3 separate regions of the Homo sapiens genome follow, and all the other regions are linked to region 2. Evidence: promoter capture Hi-C in 16 types of primary human blood cells and fetal thymus (Javierre and others, 2016). All regions are on one chromosome and are shown on one strand. Each heading gives the region's core, a stretch centred on a gene start or on the middle of the fragment in contact. The rest is flanking DNA. Distances are from core to core; before and after follow the strand shown. Region 1 overlaps CES5A (carboxylesterase 5A). Region 2 holds the start of MMP2 (matrix metallopeptidase 2). Region 3 has its middle 83 kb from the start of CES1.

The links. Contacts are between HindIII fragments. The CHiCAGO score rates a contact against its expected background, and 5 or more counts as called.
Region 1: a fragment that was not itself captured here is called in contact with the fragment with the promoter of MMP2 in region 2 in 1 of 17 cell types (monocytes); the score reaches 5.2 in monocytes.
Region 3: a fragment that was not itself captured here is called in contact with the fragment with the promoter of MMP2 in region 2 in 1 of 17 cell types (M1 macrophages); the score reaches 5.3 in M1 macrophages.

Annotation. Positions count from the first base shown.
Region 1 is chr16:55,865,370-55,870,050 of GRCh38, reverse strand. CES5A (carboxylesterase 5A) reads left to right here. Exons shown (of 13, transcript NM_001143685.2): 4 at 307-440; 5 at 3,935-4,088. Among named protein-coding and RNA genes, the nearest start is that of CES5A, 7.7 kb to the left of the region's middle. The HindIII fragment of the contact is 7,799 bases long and covers 1-4,681 here.
Region 2 is chr16:55,477,706-55,482,464 of GRCh38, reverse strand. It overlaps MMP2 (matrix metallopeptidase 2), which reads right to left and starts at 3,267. Exons shown (of 13, transcript NM_004530.6): 1 at 2,833-3,267. The coding sequence starts at 2,985. The HindIII fragment of the contact is 12,132 bases long and covers 1-4,759 here.
Region 3 is chr16:55,748,071-55,752,661 of GRCh38, reverse strand. It overlaps the pseudogene CES1P2. Among named protein-coding and RNA genes, the nearest start is that of CES1, 83 kb to the left of the region's middle. RefSeq lists an enhancer at 1-117. The HindIII fragment of the contact is 5,815 bases long and covers 1-4,299 here.

The DNA.
Region 1 (4,681 bases), core at 1,343-3,842, 390 kb before region 2:
CATGATAACTTCATAAGTGAGATACTTTCCTTCTTCACATTTTACAGATGAGAAAAATGAGCCTTAGGCTAAGTAATCTTTCCAAGGTCACACAGCTAGTCAGTGGCAGAGCTGGGAGTCAAATCGAGGCACTCAGGTGCCAGAGCCCACATGCTTAACCCTGGGCCTTCTTCAAATGACAAAACCTCGCACCCTGCTTAGCAAGTGGGACATTTATATTTCACCTTAAGAACGTGTGCCTCAAACTGCATGGGGAGGGGAGGTGGTGCCTGGTGGGCTGACTGGATGCTCTTCTCCCCTCCTCAGGTCTTGGTGTGGTTCCCAGGAGGTGCCTTCAAGACTGGCTCAGCCTCCATCTTTGATGGGTCCGCCCTGGCTGCCTATGAGGACGTGCTGGTTGTGGTCGTCCAGTACCGGCTAGGAATATTTGGTTTCTTCACGTGAGTCTCTCCAAATGATGGACATCCCAGATCCCCAAAGGGCAGCAGTGCAGTAGCCATAGACAGTGCCCAGCAACCTAAGAAGGAGCGAGCCTTCCGGGACAATGAACAAAACTGGCCCTAATTACTTAGGTAATTTTTGCAGCTGTAGCAGATAAATCCCAAAATGTTGGTGGCTTGAAACAATAAAAATCTCTTTCTCACTTGGGTAAAGTTTAATTGAGCATCCCTGATCGGCAGACATTCTTCCTCATGGTCAACCAGGGATCTGGCTCATCACATCTTGAGCTCTGATGTGGATTCTTTAGGGCCTCGATCTTCTGCATTTGGTGGGTGGACCGAGACAGCATGGAGGATCATGCAATGGAGGGTCTCCTGGCCCAGCCTGCAGGTGGCACTTGTCACTTCTGTTCACTCGCCATTGGCAGAACTCAGTCACATGGCCACATCCAGCTGCAAGCGAGCTGGGGCCATGTAGCCCCACTGTGTGCCCTGGAAGAACAGGACACTGTTTGTGTGAGCAGTCGGTGGTGTCTACCTGAGCCTCACCCCAGGTCTTCTCGAATGCTCACCTGAGAATCATCACTCTATCACAGTGGCTTCCCTCCTCCAATCAGGCCTAACATGTACTGGGCTTTCACTGAACCAGCCATGGGGCTGTGCACTTGCCATGCATTATTTCAACTCACCCTCAAAATAATCCTTCAAGGAAGGTTCTCTGTTGTTATTCTCATTTCACAGCTGGAAAATGGAGGCCCAGAGAGGCCAAACAACTTCCCAGGGGTCACAAAACAGAGCTAGGTCTCTTGACTGCTTCTATTATCCTGTCTAAGACATGGCAGGAGAAGTCCTGATGAGGGTCCAATGTAAACAAAGAGGAGAAGTGAGAGGTGGGGCCAGGATTATGCTTGCGGGTCACTGTCACATACTATGGTAAAGGCAGCAATGATTCAAATATGAATCCTGCCTTACAGAGGCTCCTGACTATGGGAGAGATAATGCAGGGACAAAAATATCCACATTACCAAGAAGGACATGGTTAATTCTCCAAGAGTGAGAGGCCATGGAGCTGTGGAAACAGAGGAGGGAGTTGCAAGGGATCAGGGAGGCTTCAGAGAGGGGTGACATTGGAGTTGCACCAGAAGGATGTGGTTGGGCTTGAGGAGAAGGGGTTCAGAGAACATGTGCTTGGCAAAGGGTGCTACCTGTGCAAAAACTAGGAAGTTGGGAGGGAGGTAGCAACACATGGGGATGAAGCAATACTTTTGCAGACTGCACTGGGCCTGTAGCCCTGGAATGTAGCTCTGGGAGTGCTTTGCAGGCAGGAGAGGCTGACGGGGTGCCCTGACCAGAGTAATTACACTTCTAGCTGCTCTATATATTAGGATTCTGCATAAGATTCCTTTGGTAGAAGAGCTTTCAATAATTGCTTATCGTATCTGGTTTTGATCATAGGTAGATGAAGCTACAGCAGGAGATGGATGCGGGAAGGCAAGGACAGGCCTGATAGGGAAAGGCCTTGAATGCCAGGCCATACATGGAGTTTTGGCTTTATCCAACACAGATTGAGGACCAGGAGTACCTTTCACAGAGTAGTGTACCAGGAACCTCACTCTGGAGCAGAGTGGAGGCTGAGCCAGGGGTGCCCAGCTGCAGATAGGGAGCCCCACTGGGAGGCACTGTCTTGATGCAGGCCATGGGGTCATTCAACCACAAAAGCAATAGCTAACATGTATATAACGTGAATATGACATGCTTATTTTCTGCCTGGCACTGTCAATCTTCACAACCATGTGGAGTGGGCACTATCATTATCCCCATTTTAGACATGAGAAGCATTGAGGCAAAGCAGGTTAAGTGATTTGCCCAAGGTCACCCAGATAATAAGTGGCCAGGCTGTGAATCCTGTGCTCGAGGCTGAGATAGTAACCACTAAGGTATAATGCTTCTCAGGATAAACAGAGATGGAGAAATGGGGACCAGGGTGGGAGCCACAGTAGAATGGAGGTAAAATTGGCAGGGCTTGACTCTTGAGCAGGGGCCTGGGAGAGAGAAGGTGGAGTGAGAGCCAGCTCAGTGGTCATAGACAGTGGAGGGGACCCAGGGGAAGGAGCAGTCTGGAGAACTGGAAAATGGAGGGGAGTAGAATGTGCCCCAGGGTGACGTGCACTGCATGCATGCTTTCGGTCTAGACATTTCTTTGGTTCTATGGCATTTCCACTTGTTTCATTTGTTCTCTCATTAATCCCATCCCGGGAAACATGCAATTGTGCAGGGGCAGCAGCATGGGGGTGTGGGATCCCAAAACTGCAGCTTTCTAGCTCTTGGGCAAGAGGGTTTAACCTCTCTGTGCCTGAATTAAAGAGTTGATGTATCCGTTGGTTTCCTGACAGCAGGCTCACAGGTTTAGTGGAAGGGAGCTGGCATGAGCTGCTGCTGTGGAGAAAAGCAGCCTCTGCCCAAACACTTCCCAGCAGAGAGGGAGCACGGGGTTGGGGGATAAACATCGCAGTCTCTCTCTAGCCCACCCTCATGGCACACAGCTGAGGCCTGGGTGATGTCATTCCTAGAGGTCAGCTTTTGAGGGGCAGAGCAGAGAAGGGTGGAGAAGACCCAAAAAAGCAAAGGGAGAAAACCCAGCACCACCTACCTCATAGGTGTGAGGGTTGTAGGAGTATTAGCCTTAAAGCCCTTAGAACAGTGTCTGGTACATGCTGCAGCTGCTGTTATTGTTTTTTGTTTGTTTGTTTATTTTTTTATTTTTATTTTTTTTGAGACAGAGCCTCACTCTATTGCCCAGGCTGGAGTGCAGTGGCATGATCTCAGCTCACTGCAAGCTCCGCCTCCCGGGGTCAAGCCATTCTCCTGCCTCAGCCTCCCGAATAACTGGGACTACAGGCGCCTGCCACCGTGTCCAGCTAATTTTTTTGTATTTTTTTTTTTTTTTTTTTTAGCAGAGACAGAGTTTCACTATATTAGTCAGGATGGTCTCGATCTCCTGACATCATGATCTGCCCGCCTCGGCCTCCCAAAGTGCTGGGATTACAGGCATGAGCCACCGTGCCTGGCCTGTTAATTGTTATTGTGACTACTATTAATTTAGTTTCATGGAAAATTCTGTGCCCAGGAAACTTCTTGCTTTCTAGTACAGATCACCTCTCAGGAATGGATTCATGGATTCCAGACAAGCCTGGGCAACACAGGATTCATGGATTGGGATTCATGGATTCTGAGGAACCTGTGAATACTTGAAATTGCAGCTACAATATTGAATGTGCATTTTTCTTAGGTGCATAGCTTTCATCAAATTCTCAAAGAAATCCAAATCTCAGCAAAGTGTGAGAACTGAGTCCGGTTTCCCCAGCTCCTCCAGGCCTCTGACTCTCCGCCCCCTCCCCACTGACCCCTGCCCACAGCCTCTGCTGAGAACTTCCAGGGCTGTGGGAAACACACCATGGCTGACCAAGAATTCTCACCCTGCCTCTTGTCCTCAGCACATGGGATCAGCATGCTCCGGGGAACTGGGCCTTCAAGGACCAGGTGGCTGCTCTGTCCTGGGTCCAGAAGAACATCGAGTTCTTCGGTGGGGACCCCAGCTCTGTGACCATCTTTGGCGAGTCCGCGGGAGCCATAAGTGTTTCTAGTCTTGTGAGTTCTCTGCTTTGTGGTTTGAATGAATCTCAGTGCCGGAGGTTCCAAAAATGATGATGAGTCACTAACATTTGATTGTTGCCTTCATGTTGAACAAACCCTTTAATACACATTGTCTTTTTCAAGCCTCACAACACATTATGAGTTAGGGGCTCAGTCTCATTTCACATACAGGACAGCTGTCACTGGGAAAGTTTAAATAAATCACCTAAGGTCACATAGTGAGTAATAATTTGAGGAAAAATCCCTTATATTTGTAGAGGAGAAACCCTAGTATTCAATTGCCAGAATGGTAATCACTTGTTTAATAGGAAACTCAGCTAAGACATGAAATGCCAAAAGATACATGTAAATATTTTATTTTAATTTAAACCATAAAATGTATATTCCCTCACCAACAGTTTGATACAGGGCCTTATGTTTGCAGAGTTGGTCTGCTGACTCGATTTCCAACATGGATTGTCTTGCATAAACCACCTGCAAAATTCACTGTCCTCAAATTGCAGTTTCAGTTTCTTTACAGTGGGCGCAAACTTAAAGATGCCTGCAAAGCAGTCTGACTTTAGCGCATTTGGGATTTGTATACTTTT
Region 2 (4,759 bases), core at 2,018-4,517:
ATCATTATACTCCAGCATCCTTCCTTTACCTCTATCAACTCATTTATCTACCTTGCGGCTGGTGACTTGGGGACTTTTTTCCTCCTGTTTTCTTCTAAAGAGATTCAAGGACTATGTGCATGGGCTCTGGCAGTAGACAGACCTGGGTTTAAATCCTGAATCAGCCATTTGCAAAAAGAAAGTAGTCCTGTCCTTCATGAGTCATACAACTGGCCCTGCCCAAACTGAGGCCCAAACTGAGCAGGTCCCTGCAGAGGTTCAGGGAGCAACCGACTCATTTATTTATTCAACAAATACTTTTTAATACCTACCATGTACCAAGCCCAGTGCTACTGCTGAGGAAAAACAGGTGAAAAAGATAGACAATTCTGTCTCTAAGGTTCAAATCCTAGCAGGGAGGCTGATAGATCCCAAATAAAACAAAATGAAGTATGTGATAAGTACTGTGTTAGAATGTTGAAAGGAGCCAGGAGATCTTCTGACAACGGTCCTAGCCTTGTTGGAAGTAGTTAGGAAAGGGGAAATGGAGGACATAACAATAATAATAATATAATAGAATAATGGCTAGTGCTTATTGAGTACTTACCATGTGCTAGGTAAGCACCTAAGATTACCTCTCTTTTAACCCTGAGATAGGAAATTTCCCAGTTTGCAGATGAAGAAACTGAGAAGTCACTTGCCTAACATCATCACTAGGCCAGCTGGTTGGTTCATGCACTCTTTGATTTGAAGCCAAGCGGTCTAAGTCCAGAGTTATCTTCTTAAGCCCCCACTGCATTGCCTCTGGACAACACAGACTTCCATTTGTCAGAGGTGTTCAAACCAGGCACCTCCATCTTGAGTGGGGGGCTGGGTAAGATGAGGCTGAGACCTGCTGTGCTTCATTCCCAGGAGGGCAGGCATGCATTCTTAGTCACAGAATGAGACAGGAGGTTGGTAGGACTGATTTCACCATATACAGTTCGGGTCACAAAGACCCCTATGATAAAACAGGATGCAGTAAAGAAGCTGGAGAAAGCCCACCCAAACCAAGACTGCAATGAAAGTGACCTCTAGTCGTCCTCACTGCTCATTATATGCTAATTATAATGTATTAGCATGTTAAATACATTAGACACTCCCACCAGCGCTGTGACAGTTTATAAATGCCATAGCAACATTGAGAAGTTACCCTATATGGTCTAAAAGGGAGAGAAACCCTCGGTTCCAGGAACTCCCCACCCTTTTTCTGGAAAACTCTTAAATAATCCACCCCTTGTTTAGCATATAATCAAGAAATAACCATATGTATACTCAGTCCAGCAGCCCATTCCCTGCTCTGTCTATGGAATAATCACCCTTTTATTCCTTTACCTTCTTAATAAATTTGTTTTCACTTTACTCTGTTGGCTCGCTCTTGAATTCCTTCCTGTGCAAGCCAAGAACCCATGTGGCCCCCAGGCTGAACCCCAATTTAGGGGTTCATCCTGTGACCCATTGGCTGGAAAAGGTGTAGGAAACCAAGTAGCTTTGTCATTGTCCCAAAGCTCCACTCTCACCCCCACCCAACAGCCACATCATTATGCCAGCCAGCTCCAGATCCTTGAAAAAAGTAGCCCTCTAAAAATGTATGGAGGTTTCCCAACCCATCTATCCAGAGGGGGCTGAGACCTAGCTGTTTGGAAGGGTGAGAGTTGGGAGAGGGTAGTTGTCACCTCCTGAAGGAGTTCCTAGGGTGACCAGAGGGCATGGGCGTCTTCTCCCGGACAGGTTGAGGGGGAGGCTGGAGGGCAGGGTGGCTGAAGCAACAAGGGAGCAGATATCCCCTGGACTGGAAAGGACATCTTGATGGGTCCCTGGCCTGCCTCTCTCCTCAGGCCCTACTTACGCAACACTGCGGCCAGGCTCAGTGCCCCTCCAGCCAGGCGCGCGCACGCTCACAAGACAACATCTGAACCGCGGTTTGGGAGCCCAGCCAGGAAGGAGGGCTCTCTGGCCGCTCTCCGACCCGAGCGGAGCGCAGTCCGCCCCCGCCCCACGCGCCGGGCCCTCCAGCGCCTGCCCCACTCCTCCTCCCTCCTGCCGGGCCAGCTCTCTCCTTCTTTTCTCCGACCCTTTGGAGAAGTTCGAGGAAACTTTCCGAGGCCCAGCCCTTGACCAATTTGTCCATTAAGCCAGGAGAAAAAAGATGCGCTCTCTGCTTCCCTCCTGCCCCAATCACTTCCCAAATGGCCCCCTCGAGCTGTTTGTTTAAAGGTCCCTCTCCGGATCTGTGCCGAAGGTTCCTAGAAATTTGCCAAGCCCCGCTTTGACCAAGCTCCCTCCCATCCTTATGCGCGCATAAGTTTACCCAAATTGTGTGCCAGAGCACCGTTCCCAAAGTCCTACATTAGCAAAAACGACCCCTGTAGCTGTTTGCCAAAGGCTTACCTAGACGCTTGGCAAGAGCCCTTAGCAACTGCCCAGATGTGTCCAAAAGTTGTTTACAAAGACCGCCCCCCCCCCCCGCCAAATGTCCCAGATACTAGAGGATGTCCCCGCTATTTACATAAGAGTCCCTTTCCAGTAGTTTGCCAGGTCACCCCTCTCCCACTCTCTGGCTTGTTTTTCGCCCCACTGCTGTATGCTGAAGGTTGCCAAATTGTTTATCAAAGGTTTTCTTTGCTTACAAAAGATCCCCCACCGTTTGCAAGAGATCACTCCAATAGCTTGCCAAAGACCCCCCAAGCTGTTTACCGAAGCCCCTCCCCCACGCTGTGTGCCCACCGCCGAGGGCAGGGGGAGAGACACCCCCATCCTTTGCCTCCGAAGTTTGTCTAAACGTGGTTCCTTGAGGCCAGCGCAGCAACTCACCACTGCCAACTCTTTGTCCGTTTTGGGGGCGACATCGCCGGGGAACTTGATGATGGGCGACGGCGCGGCGGCGGCGTGGCTCAGCAGGCAGCCCAGGAGACAGAGCGCCCTCAGGGGACCCGTGAGCGCGCCCCGGGCCATTAGCGCCTCCATCGTAGCGCTCCCTGGCCCCGCGCGTCGCCCGGGGGTCGCTGGCTCGGTGCGTGTGGCCGCCTCGCCGCCTGGTTGGAGCCTGCTCCGCGGCGCAGGGCTGCGCTCCGAGGGTCCGCTGGCTCGGTGGCCTGGGGTTTGCCCGGCTCAGCGGCTCATGGTCCGGCCCCCGCGCCCCAGCCCCCGCCGCCGCCGCCGCCGCCGCAGGTCCTGGCAATCCCTTTGTATGTTTAAAGCCCCAGATGCGCAGCCTCCAGCCACCGCCTGAGGAAGTCTGGATGCAGCGGAAACAAGGGAGGGCAGCCGCCAGATGTAGCCGGCTGGGCTGGGAGGGAGCTGGCAGAGCGGGGCTGGGGGCGGGGGGCGCACTCGGGCCCGCCCCTCTCTGCCCCACCCCCCTACTCGCCCTCCTCCACTTTTCTCCTCTTTTTTCCTTTCTCCACCTCTTTTCCCCGGCCGCCTGCTACTCCTGGCCTCTACGTCCACCCTCAGTGCACGACCTCGTCACCCCACTTGCCTCTCTCGCGATCTGGGCGCACAGCCTCAGAACCCCCTGCTGGGAAACATCTGTCGCTCTAGGCCCTTGACGTCCTGAGGTTAGAGAGCAGCGGTACTACTAGGAGGGACGCCGGCTTGGCTAGGACACCCTGCACTCCCTGGGGTCAGGAACGGGAAGGAATGGTCAGAAACAGATGATCAGCCACAATGATAGATGGTCAGAGACAGAAATTTTCGATATTTAGGGATAGGGACAGAGAGATTCTGGGATGAACAGAGATGGAAAGAGAGAGATGGAAACAGAGACAGTGGAAGGTCCCAGGTTGCTTCCTTACCTCTTTCCTTCTGCAAATGTGTAAGCCTTAACTTGGCCTCGTATAGTGCGAGATGCTAGATACACCTTGGGAAATAGAGCAGTCAGGGGCCCCGCGTTAGAGACGTTGGAACCAGAGCGACTCCATCTTGAACAGGGGGCTGGGTAAAATGAGGCTGAGACCTGCTGGGCTGCACTCCCAGGAGGGTCCGCATTCTCGGTCACAGGATGAGATAGAAATTGGGCAAGACTGGTTTAATAAGATAGAGGTCACAAAGACCCCACTGATAAAACAGTATGCAGTGAAGAAGCCAGCCAAAACCAAGATGGCAAAGAAAGCGACCTCTGGTCATCCTCACTGCTCATTTTACGCTAATTATAATGCATTAGCATGTTAAAGGAAGCACCCACCAGTGCCATGGCAGTTTATAAATGCCATGGCAATGTGGGGAGGTTTACCCTATATGGTCTAAAAAGGGGAGGAGCCCTCAGTTCCACGAATTCCCCACTCACTCTTGAATCCTTTCCTGCGCCAAGCCAAGAATCCATGTGGCCTCTCAGGTCGAATCCCAATTTTGAAGTTCTCCCTGTGACAACCGTCTCTGAGGAATGTCTTCTCCCTCTCTCAGGAAAGACAGTTGAGAGATAAGCTGTGATGGGGAACTCCAGCAGGCTGTTGGGAACGCCTGACTTCAGCCCCTAAACTAGTAAAGACAATCAAGGAAGGCTTCCTGGAAGAAGTGACTTCTGAGCTGAGACCTGAAGAGCTAAAGAGGTGGAGTGCTGGGTGGGGAATATGGGGAATGTTTTAGGGAACATTGACAATGGCCCAGAGATGAAAAACAGCAAGAGGCACTGGAGAAGAAAGTTTTTTCTATCTGAAAAAGGTGGGGCACAGGGTGAGGGGATGGAGCTGGAGGGGTCAGTAAGGACCAGCCTAGGAAGGGGGCAGATAGGACTGGGGGT
Region 3 (4,591 bases), core at 143-2,642, 270 kb before region 2:
AATACATTCTCCAAGTGCCCTACACCAGTAAATTATGACATATCCATACAATGAATGACTATACAGCAATGATGACAAACTACAGCCATATACAACAATACACGTGAATCTCATAAACATAATATTGAGGGAAAGAAACCAGATGCAAGAGTATGTGATTCTGTTCATATAAAGCACAAAACCTGGAAAAAGAAATATTGCTGCTAGACATCAGGACTGTGGTGACCATTTTGGGTAGATAGGCAAGGAGGGGGAAGTGAGCAGGGCCTGGAATTGAGCTCCATGTGGCTTCTGGGATGCTGGTAATATTGTGTCTTGATCTGGGTCCTAATTACACAGTGTGATCAGTTAGTGAAGTTATCAAGTCATAATATATACATAGCATGTGTGTGTTTGTGTGTATGTGTGTATGTGTATATATATATATTTCTTATATGTATGTTATGTTCAATAAAAAACTGAAATGTTTGTACCAGACCTTAAGAACCTGTTATCTAATACAGGAGACAAGATTGATACAGATAAAATTACTGGTGATCACATAAATTATAGTTACAGGATAGAATATAAATGATCAAATGCAGCAATGATTTTAATCAGGACTCTGTCATATGTACTAAGAGAAATCCAACTGAAACTTACCTAAAGCATATATTGAATAAAATGTAGTCTCTCACATGAAAAGTTCAGGAGGTAAATAGAGCTTGAAATACAATTACATAAATAAATGTAATTAATGAAATAAATAGATTAGATAGGTAATAGATGATAGATAGATAATTGATAGATGGTAGATAGATAATAGATAGACAGATAGGTAGACAGACATTTTATGGCATTATCTTCCTATAAAGAGAGAAGTCTGTTTCCTACATGTCAAGGTAGAAAAGCTGTCCTCCAGGCACCCACGGTGTGCTCCAGCAACCTTGCCAACACCAGCCCTGCTGCCCGTGGGCTGGCCCCCTTGCCCCCACTGCTCAGGGTCACACTTCCACCACGTTGTGGCTGGCCATCCCCCTTCCTACCCATCCTTTAATTTCAGACTTGAGCTCCACCCCGTTCATGGAGCACAGCAAGCTCTTTGCAATGAATTCCCTTGTATTTTGACACAATCAAGTGGTAAGGTAGGTTTTTTTCTCCCCAGCCCTTCCCATCGCAGGGAATAATGAGGCACAGTCTTGATACAAACTTTTAGGAGAGCATGCGGGGCAGGACTGAGTGGGATCTGTCCCTGCTGGGGGAAGGGAGGCTCATCCTGTACATGCGTTACCTGGGGCAGCACCAGGTGGGGCAGCTACCCAGGTGCAGGGCCTGAGTCGGCTTCCCACCCTCCCCTGCAGCTCTGCCCAGGGCGAATTTTTTTTTTTTTTTTAGGTGGAGTCTTGCTCTGTCACCTAGGCTGGAGTGCAGTGGCATGATCTCGGCTCACTGCAAGCACTGCCTCCCGGGTTCATGCAATTCTCTTGCCTCAGCCTCCCGAGTAGCTGGGACTACAGGCGCCCACCACCACACCCAGCTAATTTTTTGTATTTTTAGTAGAGACGGGGTTTCATTGTGTTAGCCATGATGGTCTCGATCTTCTCACCTTATCATCTGCCTGCCTCGGCCTCCCAAAGTGCTGGATTACAGGCTTGAGCCACCATGCCTGGCCCTCTCTAGTCTGACTATCTACCCCAATCTTTCTCCTGGGCAATAGGAAAAGTTATGATTTTGAGGACAATCCAGCTTTTTCTCTTGCTGATAAGGCAGGAGTGACACTCTTTAGAGTTTTCCACATTCTAGCAGAATCCAGAAATCACCCCTGAGATTCTGAAAGACACAGTATTAGGATGACCCTCTGGAGACTTGCTCTAAGGTGGTCAGTGCCCGCAACAGAAGTGGTCCAGGTTACAGAGGGAGTTTAGACCAGCTGTTGAAAGAGACAGCCTCAGGGAGGGGTCTAGGAGGCTAGTGTACATACTGAGGAAGGTGTGGCAGACCTGTGCAAGAGTCAATAAAGGCCATCCAACAGTGCCACGGGATCACCTCGGCACCTCTCTCTCTTCCCTGATCCAGGCAAATTCTCAGCCTGGGCCATTTCCATTTCCATAGGCAGATCCAAATGGAGGATAGGGATGCTGCACTCTGGCAATCCTAAATCCTATTGTTGGAAATTCTTGGGGGCTCAGAAACATGCAGTAGGCCCAGAGCTCCCCTGAGCACTGTCCATGACCCAGCCCTCTGGACTGTACTCGTCCTGAGGCCAGGCCATCCCCAGCAAAGCCAGCTTCCTTCTCACATTGCCTCTTTCATCATCGTTCTGTCTCTGAGGAGGATGGATTAATCTCTAATACAAGACACAAGCAGTGATTTGGCTTTCAAAAGATCTTTTATTGCCAAAGCTGAGGTCACAAATAAAAAACTTGCTCCTTCATGACCTCTGCCCCCTACCCCCCACCACCAGACAATTCCCCAGCCATGGTAAGATGCCTTCTGAACCTGCAATCCCTTTGGCAAAAGACCCCAGTCTTTGCTCCTCCAGGTTCCTGAGGCTGGATGGACCTTCCGTTCACAGCGCAATGTGTTCTATCTGGGGTGGCTTCTCCACTGCCTTCTTGGCGAAGAGTTTGGTCCAGAAAGCTACTTCCTTGTCCTTCAGCTTCTGGGCTGCCTGGGTGTTAGCACCAATCTGCAGGTACCCTTCCTCCTGGTTGTACTCTGGCCAGTGCGGCAGCCCTTCTCCATTGGGGTTTCTGGAAACAAAATCAAATAGAATTGCCCCAAAGCTGCTGTGTGTCCCCAACAATCTTCAGAGATGTGTGAGGACGCCCAAGTTATCTCCGTCAAGAGGCTTGTATATCTCCAGAGACGGGGAGTTCACTATCTCCAGGGGCGGCCTCTCCATTTGTAGAGAGCTCTCATTGTCAGAGTGCTATGGTCACAGGGTCAGAAGTTTGATCGCTAGAACCTTAGAAGCTGCCCCTTCCCAATAGGCATGCCCCGCCCCCCACCCTCACCAGCTGTGCTGTGTCTTTGCCAAGAGCCTCACCCATTGCGAGCAAAGTTGGCCCAGAATTTCATCACCATCTTGCTAAGTCTGATCTCCTCTTCTGAGGCACCCTCTGTGGGGAAGAAGAAAAAAAGCCTTTGTTACTCAAAGTGTGGTCCGCGGACCTGCATTGTCAACTTCACGTGCAAACCTGCTAGAAACATAGTCTTGGCGCATGCTCCACACCCACTGAGCTGAGGTCTGCACATTTAGAAGATCCTGGTGGATTTGTGTGTACTTTACCTTTAAGCATGGCTGACCTAGGGCTCAGCAATGGGCATGCATCATTCCATGTGCTTGCCCCACCTCCCAGGGTTGCTCTCTCTTGCACACACCCACAATTCACATTCTGAAATATAACAGAACTCAAGCCTCCTAAGGGTGCATAATTGGGACATGCCCAGTGGCGATGGTGCGTCCTGAGCAGCCATGGGGTGAGTCCCATGTGATCTGTAACAGCTGAGAGTTAAGGCTTAGAAGACATCATGAAAGGATTTTTAAAAATATTGTATAATGTAAACTAAAAATAAAATCCTAACACCCCCAACTCACTGAACAGACCCTCTCTGGGCTAAGGGGACCCCAGAAAAACCCTAAACTGAGTTCCTGCCTGGAAACAGACAGGAGGTCAGACACGCCTCATCATACTCCCCCTTTTTTGTGGTTTAGACACCACCGGACGAGTATCAGCAATAAAATAAAGGTGATCATTCTGACAGAACACACTCCTTGTGGCAATAAGACACCAAATTAAAAAAAGATCGAAGGCCATGCCGGGCAAGGGTTCAGGCCTGCATCTCTACCCTTAAAGAATCCACTCTGTTCTCCCTGCTGCAAGGTGCTTCTTTTTGTCTACAGCTAAACCAGTACTGGCCTGGAGTTAAGCAAAATGAAAACAATTAAAATGGCTGCAGCTTGGATACTCGGAAGAACAGAACACTGCCCACCAGCCTTAACTACGGCTTTGATTGCATAAGAGACTGATTTCAGTTATTTTCTCCAGATAAGAATATCACCAGCCATGGACTGGACCTGGCCGGTGTACAGAGGCTGCTCACTTGCTGGGCTTTGTGTCCTGAGAAGACCCTTGGATTTATAAGCCCTAATTGTAATACATTTAAATATTAGGTCTCCACCACCAGGTGAACATGGGCAATGTTACATGCATGTTTGTTTAATACACATGTGTCAGGACTGTCTTCATGAATATCCATTGCTCCCCCTGTAACGTGTTGAACATGTATGTTTAGCCAATCTGTTCATATAAAGCTTCTACCCAACCCCTCCTCGTTCGATGAGCCTGTTTCTGGGCTTGGCCAGAGGCACCTTCCCAGCTTGAGGGATAGCAACTTTGCTGACTATAAACCACATCAAAAATAAAGTCTCCTCTCCCATTCCAAATTCATACATCCTGTGATTTCTAAATTAACAATTATTAATTATATTAAATTTAAAGGTTTATGAGGTTTTGTTAGAGACATAAAGGCAGAAACACAAACCGACACACATTAGACCTGACTCAGGGTTAACACCAATTCTAATCTCACCCTCACTCATATTCTC